Regions from separate parts of the Homo sapiens genome. Here regions 2, 3, 4 and 5 are each linked to region 1. Evidence: promoter capture Hi-C in 16 types of primary human blood cells and fetal thymus (Javierre and others, 2016). All regions are on one chromosome and are shown on one strand. The core of a region is centred on a gene start or on the middle of the fragment in contact, and the rest is flanking DNA. Distances in the headings are between cores, read along the strand shown.

Region 1 (3,268 bases), core at 443-2,942:
CAGCATGATTATTTCCATAGTCCCAGATCAGTCTTAAGAGGCGGCAAACAATCAGGTGATATAGTTTCAGGGCTAGATAAAGGCTGTCCCCTACCCTCAAATAATACTTCTACTACGGTTGCTGGTGCTCGAATTTTCACCCCCAGAAAAGAATTCCTTTGGCTTTAGGCTCAGTTTGTGAAAATGCAAAGTCAAGATTGATGGAATTTTAAACTTATTTACATCAAGATCACCCAAATTTGTTAGATATCTTCAAGGCAAGTTTGCTAAGGAAAGGAAAGGGAGGATGTGAGGGCATAAAAACAATCTTAGGGCAAAAATGGATAAATGAGGAGCCAGTTTTCCAGTGAGACAGACCCAATTATGCAAACAAGGGAGTGGGCTCCAGGGTCAATATTAATTCGCAAATTAGTGGCCAGTACCAATTTAGCACCATCGCTCATCTCCTTCTCAAAATCATCTATGATATAGCGGTGATGCTGCTTTATTTACAGGGCAACTAACCGAAAGGTCAGGACAACGAGTTTGCAATTTACAGTCTCTGGACAGGGTTGAAAGTCAGTTTTTTTTTGTTTTTTTTTTTTTTTTGAGATGGAGTCTTGCGCTGTCGCCCAGGCTGGAGTGCAATGGCAAGATCTCAGCTCATTGCAACATCCACATCCCGGGTTCAAGCGATTCTCCTGTCTCAGTCTCCCGAGTAGCTGGGACTACAGGCGCGTGCCACCACGTCCGGCTAATTTTTGCATTTTTAGTAGAGACGGAGTTTCACCATATTGGCCAGGCTGGTCTCGAACTCCTGACCTCGTGATCCACCCGCCTTGGCCTCCCAAAGTGCTGGGAATACAGGCGTATAAACTGTACTGAGCCACTGCGCCCGGCCGAGAGTCAGTTTTTACAAGCACTCAGATGTGGGCCCGAAAACAAATCAAAACAAAAGTCGTGACTTCCCAGATCTTAGGTAAGGCATAGATTCGTCTGCAAGGAGGGCCGAAATCTCTACCTATCAGGCAAAAGGCAAAAAGCCCGGAAGGGTCGGGGAGAAGCAAGCTGGAAGGCTCCAGGAAGTGGGTGGGGAGGAAGCTGCCGGGGTTGGAGCCAACCCTAGCAACAGCAGGTTTGCACACGCCTAGCAGAGGAAGTCCCGGGCCTAAGCGTGCAGCGGTCACAAGAGCTTTTGGCAGTGCTGTCCCCTTCGATTCCGGTCATCACCCAACCATCCAGCCCGGGTTTGGGGCGGAAAACCGGCTTGTAAAGTGGGCGGCGGCCGGTGTTCCCACAGCTGAGTCACAGCCCAGCCAACTTTTACAGCGTTTCCCAGAAAGAAAATACAAAGTCTCAGTCCCGGAGCCCACCGCTTCTAATTCCCGCTCCCCTGTGTCACCTGACCCGGGGTAACTCCAGCCCCACTACTGAGATATTTCCCACTCATGGCGCAACTTCTTGCCTGCGCAAAGCCTCGTGGTACCCCGAGCGCTCTCCAAGTGCTACCAACCCCACAGATGAGAGGGCAGGAGAGAGGGGAAGGGCTGCGTCCTCACCTGCAGGACACGGACACCTCCACCCGCGTGGCCGGGATGGCAGCGCTCAGCTGGTTCAAGTCCCCGATGCCCGCAGTGCTGTTGTAGCGGCTGTCCATATTGGGAGGAGGCGCCTTGGACTTGTCCGGCGCCCACAACCACAGCTCGGGCGGACTGAGGGCTAGCTCCCGTCAGGCGGGGATGGGGGTTGAGGGTGGAGGCAGAAGAAGGAGGCGGAGGCAGCGCGCGGGATGGGGGAGGGAAGGGAGGAGGCGGACCTCCGCGCAGAGCCACGAGGGAACCGCTAGCCAGTCCTGGGTGAAACTGACGCTGCCAGGCAAGTGGCGCGCGGGGATCCCGGTTTCCCAGCCCCCTTCCGGCAGGCAGCAGCCCGGGCGGGGGACACACTCCGTGATCCCCTCCTGGCTGGAGGGGTCAGGCTTGGTGGACCCAGCAAGCAGCCTGATGGAGAAGGTGGCACCAGACGCAGACCCCTACCGTCCAGGACCGCAAGCCCTCGCCGGCTCTGCGTGCTTTTAGGTTTTGTCTCCACCTCTGCACACCCACACTCGCCTCCTGGGCCGCGACAGCTTCCTTCTGTCAATCAGGTGTGGACGGGAAGGTCTCGAAGTTTCCTCGCCTGAGTTGAAAGCTGGAGGTGGGGGCACCTCTGCCCGTTCCTAACTGCCCCGTTATAAGGTCCCCCTCCCCACAATTGGTTCTCACCTCGCCCTCGGAGCTCTTGGGAGATCCCTCCGTCCCTCCTACTGTGCCCTCGGGCAGATGAGTCTGGTCCCAGCTTCTGGACTGCCCACTGTCGGCCACTTGAGAGTTGGGGACGGTGGGGCATTGTGACGCTCTCCAACCTTGGAACACGGTGGCAAAGTGGCCGATCAATATATGGGACAAGTGGGGGCGGGGGGGCGGACTCTAAGGTGGAAAAAACAATACTACTTGGGATTTAAGGAAGCAATCTGGATTCTGTCTCCCCTTGGTTCTTCGGAGCTTAGAGGTCTAACGGCGACATTCCTCCTACAGTAAGGGCTCTTCTGGGTCCCTCGTTTCCAAAGGCATGAAAGTTCTGACCTGAAAATGGGGGCCGGGGAGGGTGATGTCACAACCATATAACGCAGCTCCTTCAGCCGACTCCCACCCGCAAGAACTGAGACCTGACGGATAAAAGCAGAGAGGAGTCAGAGTGAGCGCTGCGTTTGGGAAACTGCATTCCAGGGCAGCAAGACTGGTGCCAAGACGGAGTCGTGGCAAAAGCATCCGGAGGTAGACGAGGCGCCCCTCCACTGCAGGGACCTTTGTTCCCCGCGCCTTCCCTCCTGCCTCACCCGAGCGCCTGCGGGTCCCGGGAGCTCGCCACCAGGCGGCGACGGAGAACAGGATGCGGCGCAGCTGGAAGGCAGAGGGTGGAGAGGGGGCGGGTGTCCGTCCGATTTAACGCTCCAAGCACGGAGTTTCCAGCTGGTTGGGCTAAGTCTGGGAGGAGCAGTTTTTGCGGTGGAGGACTTGCCTTGCGTTGTAACATTTTAATCCACTTGCAGCCTCCTGCCTAGAGAATCTATAGAGGCGGGTGAGAGTGTGTAGGTGCAGTCTTGCCGATTCCCCTGCCGAGTGTACTTCCCCTGTTTCTTCTTGCTTTCCTTTCCTGATTTCCCCACCCACCGCTTTTTCTTCTTTTTTTTTCCTTCCTCTTGTCCTATTACAAATTAAACTGTAGTTTACTGCGATTTGGAAATGCC
Region 2 (3,385 bases), core at 730-3,229, 590 kb before region 1:
GAACTCACTCAGTATCATGAGAACATCATAGGGGAAACTGCCCCAAGGATTCAATTATCTCCGTCTGGTCTCTCCGTTGACACGTGGGGATCGTGGAGATTATGGGGATCATAATTCAAGGTGAGATTTTGGGTGGGGACACAGCCAAACCATATCACCAACCATTCTCTTTGTCTGATACTACAGAATTTACCTGGCCTGAGACTTTCAAGGGTAAAACTGGAAAGTCTGCCACAAACCAGAAAGATTTGTTCTATGAAAGTTATCAGAATCAAAATGGGGCCACTTGCATAAAAACCCTGAAAAATGGAGCTAAGGAAGACCAGAAAGGGAGGGTTTATATGCGTGTATGCCTGACAACAGGAACTACGACAAAAGACTGCACAAACCACAACTTTGCACAAAGGCCACCACAATCTCACAAAAAATTACTTCTGTGAGGACATTTGCCCAGCAACTGCCTGTCCAACCTCAAACTGGTGCCACCCTTTCTACCAGTCCTTGTAACCAAGGATAATTGTCTCAAAGCAATTTATGTAACCCTCTTCATTTTTCTTTTAAAATCCCTTGTCTTCTTTTACCTCCCTATGTTCATTGTATTCTCACCAAATAAATATTACTGTTTTTTAGAAGGGTCTCTCCGTGTGTGTGTTACTTAGGTTTAACCAGTCCCCTATACAATGTCTTCAAGACATTTTCAGTAGAGCTAAAATACTTGCTAATGCTTTTGTACTAAAATGTTGTGTGTTTTTTTAATTGATTCATTAATTTTAAAATTTAGATTTTAAATTGATATGTTAAGATTGACCTCAAGGGTAGAGTTGCATTTTAGAGGTTATCATCTGTGATTTTTGGCCCAGGGTGCAGTACTCTGCTGTAGCTAGAACGAATTGTCACCTAGAAAGGAGTAAACCGTCACTCTGATTAGCAAGTGGCCAATGTTTTCATTCAGCAACAAGTGAAAAGGGGTGCAATAAGAGGCAGGGTGTTTCTTGGACTAATACTTCAAAGTTATTACAGTTACAGCCTTTGGGGAAATTCACTGTTCAGATATGGCTGTTTCAAACAGTTAAGTATATGCTATGTTGTCTGAGTTCATCAAATTAGGAATGTCTTAATTGATCAAAGTCAGCTAGGTTATACCAGAGAAATAAAGTCAAAATCTTAATGGCTTATAAACCAAAAAAGATGTATTTCTTGCTAAAACAACCTATCCTTAGAACCCCAACAGAAATTGCCCATTTTTCTGCCGTAACTTATTTATCATAATTCAAGTAGCACAAATAAATAGTTGATGTGCAATTATAATGGGATTGCTCATCCTAATGACTCTTTTTCACAAACATCTATGGAAAATGGCAGTTGGAATTCTGAATGGAAAATATAAGTTGAAATCAATGCTGATCTAGTTTTAAATGATAGGTCTAATAAAATGTAGTCTATTTCATTAAAACCCCAGAGGTAGCTATTTTACTAGGTCTTGATTTAGGAGCAGAGCTTTGGAAAGCATTTCAAGATTATCAAAGATGCTGTAATCTAAGAGTAGAAAAGTGACAACAGCTTCATCGATTTGCAGATAGTAAAAGTAACTCACTAACAAATGAGTGAAGTACTCTATGAAGAACTCTACTGGGCCCATGGAGCTTCTTAGCATTCTTAGGTAATATGTTTTACATCAATCGTTTCCAAATATGAAGATCAGTATTCAGTGATTTGAGATGGCTCTCTAGAATCTAGTTTTTCACAATGATCCCCCAGCAGATTTTGATGTAATTAGTCTGTAAGACGAACATTTTTTTAAAAGATGAAACTTGTATTTCAAATTGGTGTATGGAAACAGAGAATAGTGGAATGTAAATGTAAAGTTATTGGGACTAGTGAAACATTCAATTCAGTATATATTGTAGATTATTTTAACCTATAAGGCTGTGAAGTTATTTTATTACTCTTGGTCTGATGTTCTAATTCCTACACTTGGTTCTGACACTAATTTTTTATGTAATTTTAGGTAAATTATTCATTTTTTAAAAATCAGCTTCTTTTATAAAATGAAGTCAAGTAGATTATTAATAAAGATCCCTAGCCATCCTAAAACCCTATATTTCCTTGAAACTTTCCATTTTATGTAAAGCGATGTGTGCAGCATGTATAGGAGTCAAATGTTTAACATAAACTATTGGTGGCAATTGTTATGAAGAAAAATGGAGAGCATAAATGTCTAGTCTTGTTCTACTCCCTTTAAAAACGGCCCACTATTTCTAGGGTGGGTCAGTAAGCTGCAGAGTATATATAACACGATTTAGCAGGTCAATAGGTCAGGGGCTAATTACTCGTAGATCACATCAACCTCTTGAAGACTGAATCATCTGGAGATGTGTTACAAGTGACTTAAACAGATAAGTACAGCATGGAATCAATAATAAAATGGGAGATGATGGTTAAAGCAAAGCTAAGCATCACATCAGAGTAGAATCCTGACATGATTTTATTCCAGTAATGTAAATATTCCCGTCCCAGCCCTCATTCACCACTACCTCCTCTTATCATTGAGGAAACAGGCAGAGACAGACTGGAAAGGCAGTCAGCTTGATTTAAGAAACTTTCTTAAGTTCAGAAATACTGAATTATTTTTAACCCAGAAAAAGAGCTCAATTGAGAACTCTGAGGTTTGCAACCTTAAATCCCGACTCAATCTGATATATGCCTGCCAAAGGCAACCTGACTGAGGTTACCTGAGAGAAAGTTTTTCTACAAAACATGGCCAACCATGCTCAAGACAAAATTCCAACACATAATTTATCTTCGGCATTCTTCAAATTATTTACCACATCTCCTGCCCCCAACACCTAATCCCAGAATACAGGAATTTGATGATGTCTACACAGCCTATAAAAGTCCACAAATTTAAGTGCCTACTGTGTGAAAGCCATTTGGGGGACTACAAACATAAAGGATGTATAATGCCACCCACTAAGATGTTCACGCTTATGATTTAGTAGGAAAAACAGAAGGCTGCCTTATAAATATTAACAACCTAATTTACAGGCACACCTAAAACATCCCAAATTCTAAAATATATATTTTCTTCCAAATCCTACAGGGTAATATGGCTATGAGAGTGCACTAGGAGTGTCAATTTTACTAAATCCTCTGAGAGCATCCACATTTTGAAAGAGTTCTCTCTTAACCTAAACAAACAAACAAACGAACAAACACTCCTCTCACTGAAGTTCATTCGGCATTGACGGGTCTCTGGTTCTTCAAGTTTTCATCTGAAAGTCTCAGTCTTTGCTATCACAACCAACGCCCCCTTCCTACACTCCAAGGTTGATGGAATGAAATGTCTTGGAATTGAGGGTTTAATTAATTCGGATCACTGGAGAGA
Region 3 (3,435 bases), core at 224-2,723, 530 kb before region 1:
CCATGTATGGGAGTCTCTTGGCAAGATTTTTCTGTGAGCTGAAAATAATGCATATTATGTCTACTAATCATTAAGACATGTCCCATTGTGTTAATGCCATGACTACATGGAAAAACAGATGTGGCAATTAAAACCTGAAAGTGATACCCATTTATTTTTGGCTGGAAAAGTGCTACATATAGAAGTGTTTTGTTTTTTTTCTTCATTAGCCAAGATGGCATGAACAGAGTAACTATTATTTTCCTGCTATTTATGAATAGTTGATGAATCATGACCCACACTCAACCACCAGCATATTTCTATTTTTAAACCATTTTAAATTATGCTTATATTCATTTACTGAAATTTCTGTGAACTCCTGGGGAAAAAAAAAAACTAATATGTGTACTTCCATGTTTTTTTGTTTTGTTTTCTTTGGTTGGGAGGGGCATGGTTAAGCCACGTTGGCCAGAAAGCAAAGACTGATTAAATGACTAAAATAAAATAGCAGCTACGAACAAGCCTTGTACTCAAAGTGAAACTTACAAGCATAGAGATAGAAAGTGGAGAATGGTATTCCCAAGTCTATCATACATATATTGTAAAACCAACTGGTCATGTCCTTATTTGACAGTAATTGATCAAATTGACAATGGATATATGTAAATCCACTTTGAAGAAGACCAAAAATATCTTATTAACTAGATTTCAGCCTGTTCTAGTTTAAAAATTTTCTACAAGCTAAGTATTTTCAAGTATCTGGTTTTTGCAAATATTTTTTAAGACTTTTCAGGAAATTAAAGAATAAGATACAGCTTCCACTGTCATGAAGTTTACAATCCAGAAAAAGAGATAACACTATAATATAAACAACTATACTTCAAAACGAATTGTGTTAAGTATGAGAGGTAGCTTAAATTGCTGTGTGAGACTGTGGTAATAAAACTACAAAAAAACACAGTTCCTTTAAAAATCTCAGCTACCGTTTTTGAATAAATTGGTAAGCTGATCCTAAAATTCATGAAAAGTCAAGGGGCTTAGAAGAAAATTCAAGGGGCTTAGCCAAAACAGTATTTAAAAAGAAAAAGAAATGTGAAGGATTTATAATTTTTGATTTTAGAATTTACTATAATGCTATAGTAATCAAGCCAGTGTGGTATTGGTATGAGAAGAGACAAATGTATGAATGAAATAGAGTTGAAAATCCAGAAATATACCACCACATTTGTGGTCAATTGATTTTGAAAGGGGTGACATTGTCCTGGGATAACTGGAGAGCCACATTAAAAAAAAATAAAGAAGTTGGAATTATACTTTATTTTTTTAATTTTTTTATTTTTGCACAAGTTATTGGGATACAGGTGGTATTTGGTTGTATGAGTAAGTTCTTTAGTGGTGATTGTGAGATTTTGGTGCACCCATCACCTGAGCAGCAAACACTGTACCCTATTTGTAGTCTTTTATCCCTCGCCCCAATACCACTCTTACCCCCAAGTCTTCAAAGTCCATTTTATCATTCTTATGCCTTTGCATCCTCATAGCTTAGCTTTCACATATCAGTGAGAACATACAATGTTTGGTTTTCCATTCCTGAGTTACTTCCCTTAGAATAATAGCCTCTGGTCTCATCAAGGTCTGCAAATGCTGTTAATTCATTCCTTCTTATGACTGCATATTATTCCGCTATATATATGTAATATATATAACAGATTCTTTATCCACTCATTGATTGATGGGCATTTGGGTTGGTTCCATGATTTTGCAATTGTAAATTGTGCTGCTAAAAACGTGTGTGCAAGTATCTTTTTCGAATAATGACTTCTTTTCCTCTGGGTAGATACCCAGGAGTGGGATTGCTGTATCAAATGGTAGTTCTACTTTTAGTTCTTTAAGGAATCTCCCCACTGTTTTCCAAAGTGGCTGTACTAGTTTACATTCCTACCAGCAGTGTAAAAGTGTTGCCTGTTCACCACATCCATGCCAACGTCTACTGTTTTTTGAATTTTTGATTACGGCCATTCTTGCAGGAGTGAGGTGGTATTGCATTGTAGTTTTGATTTGCATTTCCCTGATCATTAGTGATGTTGAGCATTTTTTCATATGTTTATTGGCCATTTGTAAATCTTCTTTTGAGAATTGTCTATTTATGTCCTTAGCCCACTTTTTGATGGAATTGTTTGTTTTTATCCTCCTGATTTGTTTCAGTTCGCTGTAGATTCTGGATATTAGTCCTTTGTCAGATGTATAGATTGTGAAGATTTTCTCCCACTCTGTGGTTGTCTGTTTATTCTGCTGACTGTTCCTTTTGCTGTACAAAAGCTCTTTAATTAGGTCCCAGCTATTTATCTTTGTTTTTGTTGCATTGCTTCTGGATTCTTGGTCATGGAATCTTTGCCTCAGTCAATGTCTAGAAGGGTTTTTCCAATGTTATCTTCTAGAATTTTTATAATTTCAGGACTTAGGTTTAATTCTTTAATCCATCTTGAGTTGATTGTTGTATAAGGTGAGAAATGAGGATCCAATTTCATTCTCCTAAATGTCGATAGCCAATTATCCCAGCACCATTTGTTGAAAAGAGTGTCTTTTCCCCACTTTATGTTTGTGTTTGATTTGTTGGAGATCAACTGGCTGTAAGTGTTTGGGTTTATTTCTGGGTTTGCTATTCTGTTACATTGGTCTATGTGCCTATTTTTATACAAGTACCATGCTGTTTTGGTGACTATGGCCTTACAGTATATTTTGAAATCAGGTAGTGTAATGCCTCCAGATTTATTCTTTTTGCTTAGTCTTGCTTTGGCTCTGCAGGTCTTTTTTTTTTTTTTTTTTGGTTCCATGTGAATTTTAGAATTGTTTTTTCTGACTCTGTGAAGAATGATGGTGGTATTCTTATGGGGATTGTGTTGGATTTGTAGATTGCTTTTGGCAGTAAGGTTATTCTCACAATATTGAGTCTACCCATCCATGAGCATGGGATGTGTTTTCATTTGCTTATGTCATCTATGATTTCTTTTAGCAGTGCTTTGTAGTTTTCCTTGTGGAGGCCTTTCACCTCCTTTGTTAGGTATATTTCTAAGTATTTTTATTATTATTATTATTATTATTATTATTATTTTTATTGGCAGCTATTGTAAAACTGATTGAGTTCTTGATTTGATTATCTGCTTGGTTGCTGCTGGTGTATAGAAGAGCTAGTGATTTGTGTACATTAATCTTGTATTCGGAAACTTTGCTGAATTATTTTATCAGTTCTAGGAGCTTATTGAAGGAGTCCTTAGGGTTTTCAAGGTAAACAATCATACGGTAAGCAAACAGTGACAGTTTGCCTTCCTGCTTACCGATTTTGATGCCTTTTATTTCTTTCTCTTGTCTGCTCTGGCTAGGACTTCTGTTACTATGTTGAAGAGTGGTGAGAGTGGGCATCTTGTCTTGTTCTAGTTCTCAGAGAGAATGCTTTCA
Region 4 (3,640 bases), core at 879-3,378, 570 kb before region 1:
GATCACGCCACTGCACTCCAGCCTGGGCAACATTGAGCACTGAGTGAATGAGACTTCATCTGCAATCCCGGCACCTCGGGAGGCCGAGGCTGGCAGATCACTCCCGGATAGGAGCTGGAGACCAGCCCGGCCAACACAGCGAAACCCTGTCTCCACCAAAAAAATACGAAAACCAATCAGGCGTGGCGGCGCGCGCCTGCAATCGCAGGCACTCGGAAGGTTGAGGCAGGAGAATCGGGCAGGGAGGTTGCAGTGAGCAGAGATGGCAGCAGTACAGTCCAGCTTCGGCTGGGCATCAGAGGGAGACCATTGAAAGAGGGAGAGAGAGAGGGAGACCGTGGGGAGAGGGAGAGGGAGAGGGAGTTGTGTCTATTTAACACATTTTCTTATCCTAAACCAAGTATTAGAAGCTTTGTATTTCCCTCACACTGTCCTGTTAGCCATTTTCCCCTGTCTACCACCTCCCTAATGCTAAGCTTTATTAGTCATTTTAAAATAGAACCAAATCTTTTTAAATACCTGTGATGTGTGCTCATAACTAGCCTGGGTGTCTGTATAATCTTCCTTTTATTCTCATAATAATAGAAAGCAGTTAAATTACTGGCTGATCACCTTGAACTTGTTGGGGCTTGGGTTTCTTTTTTAGGCTAGGTCTGTAGGAAGCTCAGAGTATTTACCAAACACATCTAACTTGGCAGGGTTCAAGCCCCAGTCTTTGGGTCTTGTGGTGAAAAAAAAGAAAGTGGTCCCTACTCTGTGTTTGCAGACTTCCACCTCTTACTTTCCATTGGGTGTCTTCGAGTTTCTCTTATCATATGCAGCTCAGAGGTCAGCCCAGGACTTATACACAGATTTTGGGATTCCCTTCTTCTGTGACTCCCTCTTTTCTGAGATTTCTCCTAATTACAGCTACTCTAGCAGTCCTGAGTTCCATCCTTTCACACCTCAAACCAATCATACTGCACCTTTCTAACTAGGGTGTGCCCTCTGGGGGAAAAGCCATATAAACATGGATCTCACCCAGTGAGATCTTTCAACTGAGTCCATCCAGTTCCTGCCTTCTTTTGTTTACTCTTCAATGTTTCCAAAAAGATTTTTTCCCTTTTTAAATGAGTCAATCTACTGGAAAGCTAATATAATAAAAGCTCCTCTACCATGACCTGCCTAAGAACCTTGTCTTGATTGTAGTTAACATGTGTTATGTGTAGTCTTTCTGTTTATTAGATAAGGAAGTTGTGGGTGTTATTTTTGGTTTTGTGAAACTAAAAGGGAGAATTCCTGAAAATAGTTTAGGTGGCAACAGTAAGTTTTTGGAATATGGACTTCTGTATTAGCCCATTCTCATGCTGCCAATAAAGACATACCCGAGATTGGGTAATTTATAAAGGAAAGAGGTTTGATCAACTCACAGTTCCACATGGCTGCAGAGGCCTCACAATCATGGCAGAAGGTGAAGGAGGAGCAAAGTCACATTTTACATGGTGGCAGGCAAAGAGAATGCTTACACAGGACAACTCCCATTTATAAAACAATTGGCTCTCGTGAGACTTACTCACTACTAGGAGTGAGTATGGGAAAGACCTGCCCCCATGATTTAGTTACCTCCCCCTGGGTCCCTCCCATGACACCTGGGAATTATGGGAGCTAAAATTCAAGATGAGATTTGGTTGAGGACACAGCCAAACCATATCACCTTCTAATATGGTCCTCTAACAAAGTTTATCGTAGTATTTGTTATTAAATGCAATGACAACTTGAGGGAACCTTGTGTGAAAAAAACGGTATCAAGAAACGCAAAAGTGACCTACTCTAGACAAGATGAACTCGCCTAATGGGGGCTAACTAATGCAAAGTACAATATGATTATCACTGAGGAGGAATATAAGAGCTAGGGTGTTTACATGAGAATAGAAATCACATCTGACTGAAGGGACAAAGACATACTTCATGGAGAAATTCACACTGGAGATTATTTGTATGGAAACCTGTGGAGACACTGCAGAAAGCATTTCAGGCAGAATAATGTGATGCAAACCATATGGCTGAGAAGCAGGTGGTGACAGTGGCCAACACTTATGCAGTGCTATGTGACAGGCACCAGTCTAAATATTGAACATGAATTTATTTAAGCCTCATAGAGATGCCCTAAGGCAAATGCTATTATGATCCCCATTTTTACTGACAAGGAAAATAAGTCATAGGGAATTGAAATAGTTTACAAACAGGAAATGCGGCTCCAGAACATGCCCTCTTAACCAGGGCGCTATACTGATTCCTGCTAAACTTGCATCATCTGATGGCCTGTGCATCCAAAGAACTGAGGTTATTTTTAGGAAGAAAGTAAGAACAGTGCTCTGCTGTATACAGTGAGGAGCAAGGAAAGCATATGTCCCACGCAGAGACCCACAGATAAATTGGTGTGGAGAGAAACATAGTTATTTAGATTCGATAGCCAGGTTTCAGTTCGCACCAGTAGAATGGCTCTGTGAGACAGGCCCTCCACTCTCCTGTAGATCCTGTTGTAAGTGATGCAGAAGCCAGAGAGAAGGTTGCTCTCCATCAGAAACATGAGGAGTTTTGGAGACCTCCCTAAAATATTTGATCTGAAAGGGTTTGAAGCCAGGAGGAGAGATGCAGTCTTAGGAGAAACGTTTCATGACCTGTAACAGGTACCCTATCAGTCTTTCTCAGTAAGTACTATTCTTTGTAATTTTTATATTTTCCTTGCAACCCTATCACTCTCTAAAGGTCTAGTGAAAAAATCAAATTTAGATGAAACCTAGCTTGACCTAGAATCTTCACTCTGTATGTGTGTGTGTGTGTGTGTGTGTGTGTGTGTGTGTGTGTTTAATGTATACATTGGGTCTTTGGGCCAAATACATTGTAAGGTTTCAGAGGTATAAACAGGCCCTGGGCTGTGGAGAACCATGGGAGGGGATGATCTTGATCTAAGTCAGTAGTTTTTACTTAGCCACATCTAGAAATCTATGTCTTGGTCATAAATTTTGTTCTTTGAAATGCAGGGAAATGTATCATAAAATGCAGGAAATGCAAGGAAAAGTAACACATTAAAGCTAATTGGTTATTAATATTATAAAAGCATATGAGAATGTCTTATTCTATTCCCTCCAGCTCTCCAACCATATCCCCCACACATACCCACACACTGCCTGCCCACACATAAGCACAAGTATTTCTGGGGATCATGAGCATGAGAACTTTAGGGGTATTGCTAGGAAAAGAAGGAAGAGAGTAAGTAGGAAGACTGAAGACAGAGAAAGGAACCACCAGAAAGAGTAGAAAAAAAGAGAGAAATCCTTTCTTCACATACCAATGACTCTAAGAATACCTTTCTCCATTAAAATAATATCCAAGAGGCACATTGGAATGAAATACATGTGGAATACTGATATGAAAAGACAGAAGAATATAATAGGATCTGAGTTGAAAGACCATGCTTATCTCTTCACTTGTACTATAAAAATTTACAGTGATGTCCTTTAGTTGGGGTAACTGTGATGAGCAACATTGAAACCCTTTATGCCAATTTTGTTTTCAAAATGCATTGTCTTAAATTTTCTCTCAAGGTGGCACTCCTGGACATCTTTTCCAGTTATTAGTCTGACAGGAACTTGGTACC
Region 5 (3,184 bases), core at 137-2,636, 510 kb before region 1:
GCCATGGCTGATTAACAGACTCTACCACTTAATGGTTTTAGTTGATGTGAGAAAGCAGGTGATGGATTCTGGGTGTACAAAGTTAAGTAAAAAGGGTATGGCTCCCTGGTTATAGTTTCATAGTGAGAGAGAAAAATAATCTCATGAAGAATTACAGTAAAGTATGATTCTTATGATGACATGAAAAGAGTATAATCTGGGAGTAAAAATAGTCTAAGAGGTCGGGGAAGGCTTGCTATGGAAAGTCACATTTAGGGAGAGACATGAAGAATGAATGAGAGTTAGGTGAAAAGTTGGGGAATGTTCTATGCATCTCACAGTACGAGCATTTCCTATCAAAAGTCAATAGAGACACAAATCTTTTCAGTGTTGCCCAAATATACAATCAAATGGCAAAATTACTATAGTATGAGTAATTTAGTGGAAATATATGTTGTAAACTTTTAAAAAAGTCTTCACATAGTAATACATAATTCTTACAATATGAGGGATTACCAGGAATTATACTAATATAATAATTTGATAAAGTATTCCAGAAAGAAGATAACTTTGAATACTGTCTTCTCACTGAGGATTTGTGCTTGCCCAAGGAGAGGGGATTGTCAAAGACAGAATGTTAGGGCTTTATTGTTATTCCTTTTTTTCAGAGTTGTTTGATTTTATTAATTTTCATTTCTAGAAGGCTAACATGTCTGTTCAGTTACCAAATATGTCATAACAAGGTCTTGGCACTGTGCTTTTCTGCACATGATTCCTATGCTCTGAAATGCCATTTTTCTTTTTCTAATTGGAAAGTACTATTAATTGTTTATATGTCCACATCTGCTGTTAGACCATGAGTTCTGAGACATCAGACCACGTCTTATTTACATTTCAATCCTCAGAGCCAATATGTTGCCTGGCAAGTAATCAATCTACAAAGGAGAAAAGTAATTGCAGTTGACCCTAGAACAATTAGGGTTAGGTGTGTTGAGCCCTGCACAGTAGAAAATCTGCATATAAATTTCGATTCCTCAAAAACTTTATAATAGCCTACTGTTGACTGGAAGCCTCACTGATAATATAAGCAGTTGATTAACATATATTTTGCATGTTATATGTATTATATGCTGTATTTTTACAAAATTTACTAAGAAGGTTGTAAGAAAGAGAGAATATATTTACTATTTATTAAGTGCAAGTGGATTATCATAAACGTCTTGATCCTTTTTGTCTTCCTATTGAGTAAGCTGAGGATGGGGAAGAAAGGGGAGGGGTTGATCTGTTAACTGTATATTCAAGCTTATATTACTTAAGAACTAGCTTAATGACTCATATTTAGAAACTGTTAAGCCATGTTCAGTATCTTGCTACTGCCATTGAGATTTTGCAATCGCCCAAGGCATTCTAGCTGAGGTATCTGCCTTGCAGCCTCAACAAAATGAGTCACCTTAGCATTCTTACTTTAAAAATATCAGTACCTGCTTTACGAAACATGGCTAATTCAGTACTCCAAGCTTCTGTCATGCCTTAGAAACTCTCAAAACCCTAATTTAGAAAGTTGTAATGAATATCTTCTTTGAATTTCTCTATTTACCAGATTCACCAGTTCATCTTTGAAAACAGGAAATGTCCTTGCCAGAAGTCTGCACAGATCTTTGAAACATTCATGTTTTATGGCGATTCTTGTCTTTCTAGGTACCTTGCTGTCCAAAACAAACTAAAATAATTGTTGTGTATCCCACTTTACGTTGTAGTCTTGCAGGAAGGGAATAATGGCTACAAGTAATTCCAAGATCAAAGGCAGTTGGGGGCTTGACATTTAAGCACATCTTCAATAGCAGTGCTGGCCTCCCAACCAATATCTTTAGTCTACACAAGTGTGCTGCCACTGTAGTAGTATTCTTGGTCTTTGAGGTCTAAATTGCAAACTATGTACTTGAATGGTAAGAAATTGAATAGCTCTCTAGTCTATCAATTTTCTAACTGTTAATATTCAACAAATACTTTTTAAATTAATAATGTATTATTATAGAAATACACTGGATTACAATACAAATGTCCAACTGTGGAAGATTAATTAAAGTGCAGTATACCACATAAGAGAACACTGTTCACCCATTTAAAAATGAAGTTATGAATCTCTGATTTTTGACTGGGAGTATGCATCATATAGCTGACAGAAATATTAAATGCTGAGGCAGATAATTCTTATATTACGTTGTTTTAAATATAGACTATATTTGTGCATTAAAAATAGAATGATCATAAAAGAAGAAAAAAATCTCAGAAGATAAATTTTGGGATAGAGTGGTATGGTTTGGCTGTGTCCCCACCCAAATCTCATCTTGAATTCCCATGTGTTGTGGGAGAGACCCAGTGGGAGGTAACTGAATCATGGGGGCAGGTGTTTCCTGTGCTGTTCTTGTGATAGTGAATAAGTCTCATGAGATCTGATGGTTTTAAAAAGAGGAGTTCCCCTGAACCAGGTCACTCTTGCCTGCTGCCATCCATATAAGATGTGACTTGCTCCTCCTTGCCTTCTGCCATGATTATGAGGCCTCCCCAGCTACATGGAACTGTAAGTTCATTAAACCTCTCTTTCTTCCCAGTCTCAGGTGTGGCTTTATCAGCAGCATGAAAATGGACTAATACAGATAGATACATGAATTTTATCAACATAAAAAGTACTGGTTTCCATATGATCTAATATTTATGTTATTTTATTATATACTAGGAATTTTAAAAACTATTTACATATCTTAATTTTGTCCTCACAACAAACCTGAGATTGTTACTATTATGTTTTCTCTTACACAGAAGAGGCAATTGATGCATGTCAAGATTAACTTGCCTAGAGTTGGGATTTGAAACCAGCAAATCTTATTCTAGAGTTTGTACTCTATACTCTTACAACAGAAGTGACAAGAAGTTCATGAAATCACTCCAGGAGGTTAGGAATGGGGCCAGGAAGAGCTTTGGGGAAATATTAATAAAATGTAGGCAGATAATAGGTAACCTACAAAATAATCAACAACAATAAACTGTTATAGAAGCATGAAGAAAGCTAGTTTAAAAAAGAATCAACCTGCCATATGCTGCTGAAAGATCATGAAAGGGAGAGAGAATTACCCAGTGTTTATTTTTTGATAGGGTGAGTTTTTTGTTTGTTTTTTGATGGAGGAGTGAGAAATATGTTGGCTCT

The links. The method cuts DNA at HindIII sites, captures the fragments that hold promoters and counts their contacts. A CHiCAGO score of 5 or more calls a contact.
Region 2: a contact is called between a fragment that was not itself captured here and the fragment with the promoter of CPNE8 in region 1, in 2 of 17 cell types (M2 macrophages and monocytes). The highest score is 8.0, in M2 macrophages.
Region 3: a contact is called between a fragment that was not itself captured here and the fragment with the promoter of CPNE8 in region 1, in 1 of 17 cell types (monocytes). The highest score is 5.5, in monocytes.
Region 4: a contact is called between a fragment that was not itself captured here and the fragment with the promoter of CPNE8 in region 1, in 1 of 17 cell types (M2 macrophages). The highest score is 5.8, in M2 macrophages.
Region 5: a contact is called between a fragment that was not itself captured here and the fragment with the promoter of CPNE8 in region 1, in 4 of 17 cell types (M2 macrophages, monocytes, M1 macrophages and 1 more). The highest score is 22.8, in M2 macrophages.

The regions. Positions count from the first base shown.
Region 1 is chr12:38,903,899-38,907,166 of GRCh38, forward strand. CPNE8 (copine 8) reads right to left here and starts at 1,693. Exons shown (of 20, transcript NM_153634.3): 1 at 1,539-1,693. The coding sequence starts at 1,636. CPNE8-AS1 (CPNE8 antisense RNA 1) reads left to right here and starts at 1,814. Exons shown (of 2, transcript XR_007063275.1): 1 at 1,814-3,099. RefSeq lists a silencer at 1,678-1,847 and an enhancer at 2,978-3,237. The HindIII fragment of the contact is 5,959 bases long and covers 1-3,268 here.
Region 2 is chr12:38,313,048-38,316,432 of GRCh38, forward strand. No RefSeq gene overlaps it. Among named protein-coding and RNA genes, the nearest start is that of ALG10B, 2.0 kb to the right of the region's middle. RefSeq lists an enhancer at 2,798-3,385. The HindIII fragment of the contact is 9,799 bases long and covers 1-3,385 here.
Region 3 is chr12:38,374,809-38,378,243 of GRCh38, forward strand. No RefSeq gene overlaps it. Among named protein-coding and RNA genes, the nearest start is that of ALG10B, 60 kb to the left of the region's middle. The HindIII fragment of the contact is 8,931 bases long and covers 1-3,435 here.
Region 4 is chr12:38,330,952-38,334,591 of GRCh38, forward strand. No RefSeq gene overlaps it. Among named protein-coding and RNA genes, the nearest start is that of ALG10B, 16 kb to the left of the region's middle. The HindIII fragment of the contact is 3,308 bases long and covers 475-3,640 here.
Region 5 is chr12:38,391,408-38,394,591 of GRCh38, forward strand. No RefSeq gene overlaps it. Among named protein-coding and RNA genes, the nearest start is that of ALG10B, 76 kb to the left of the region's middle. The HindIII fragment of the contact is 215 bases long and covers 1,280-1,494 here.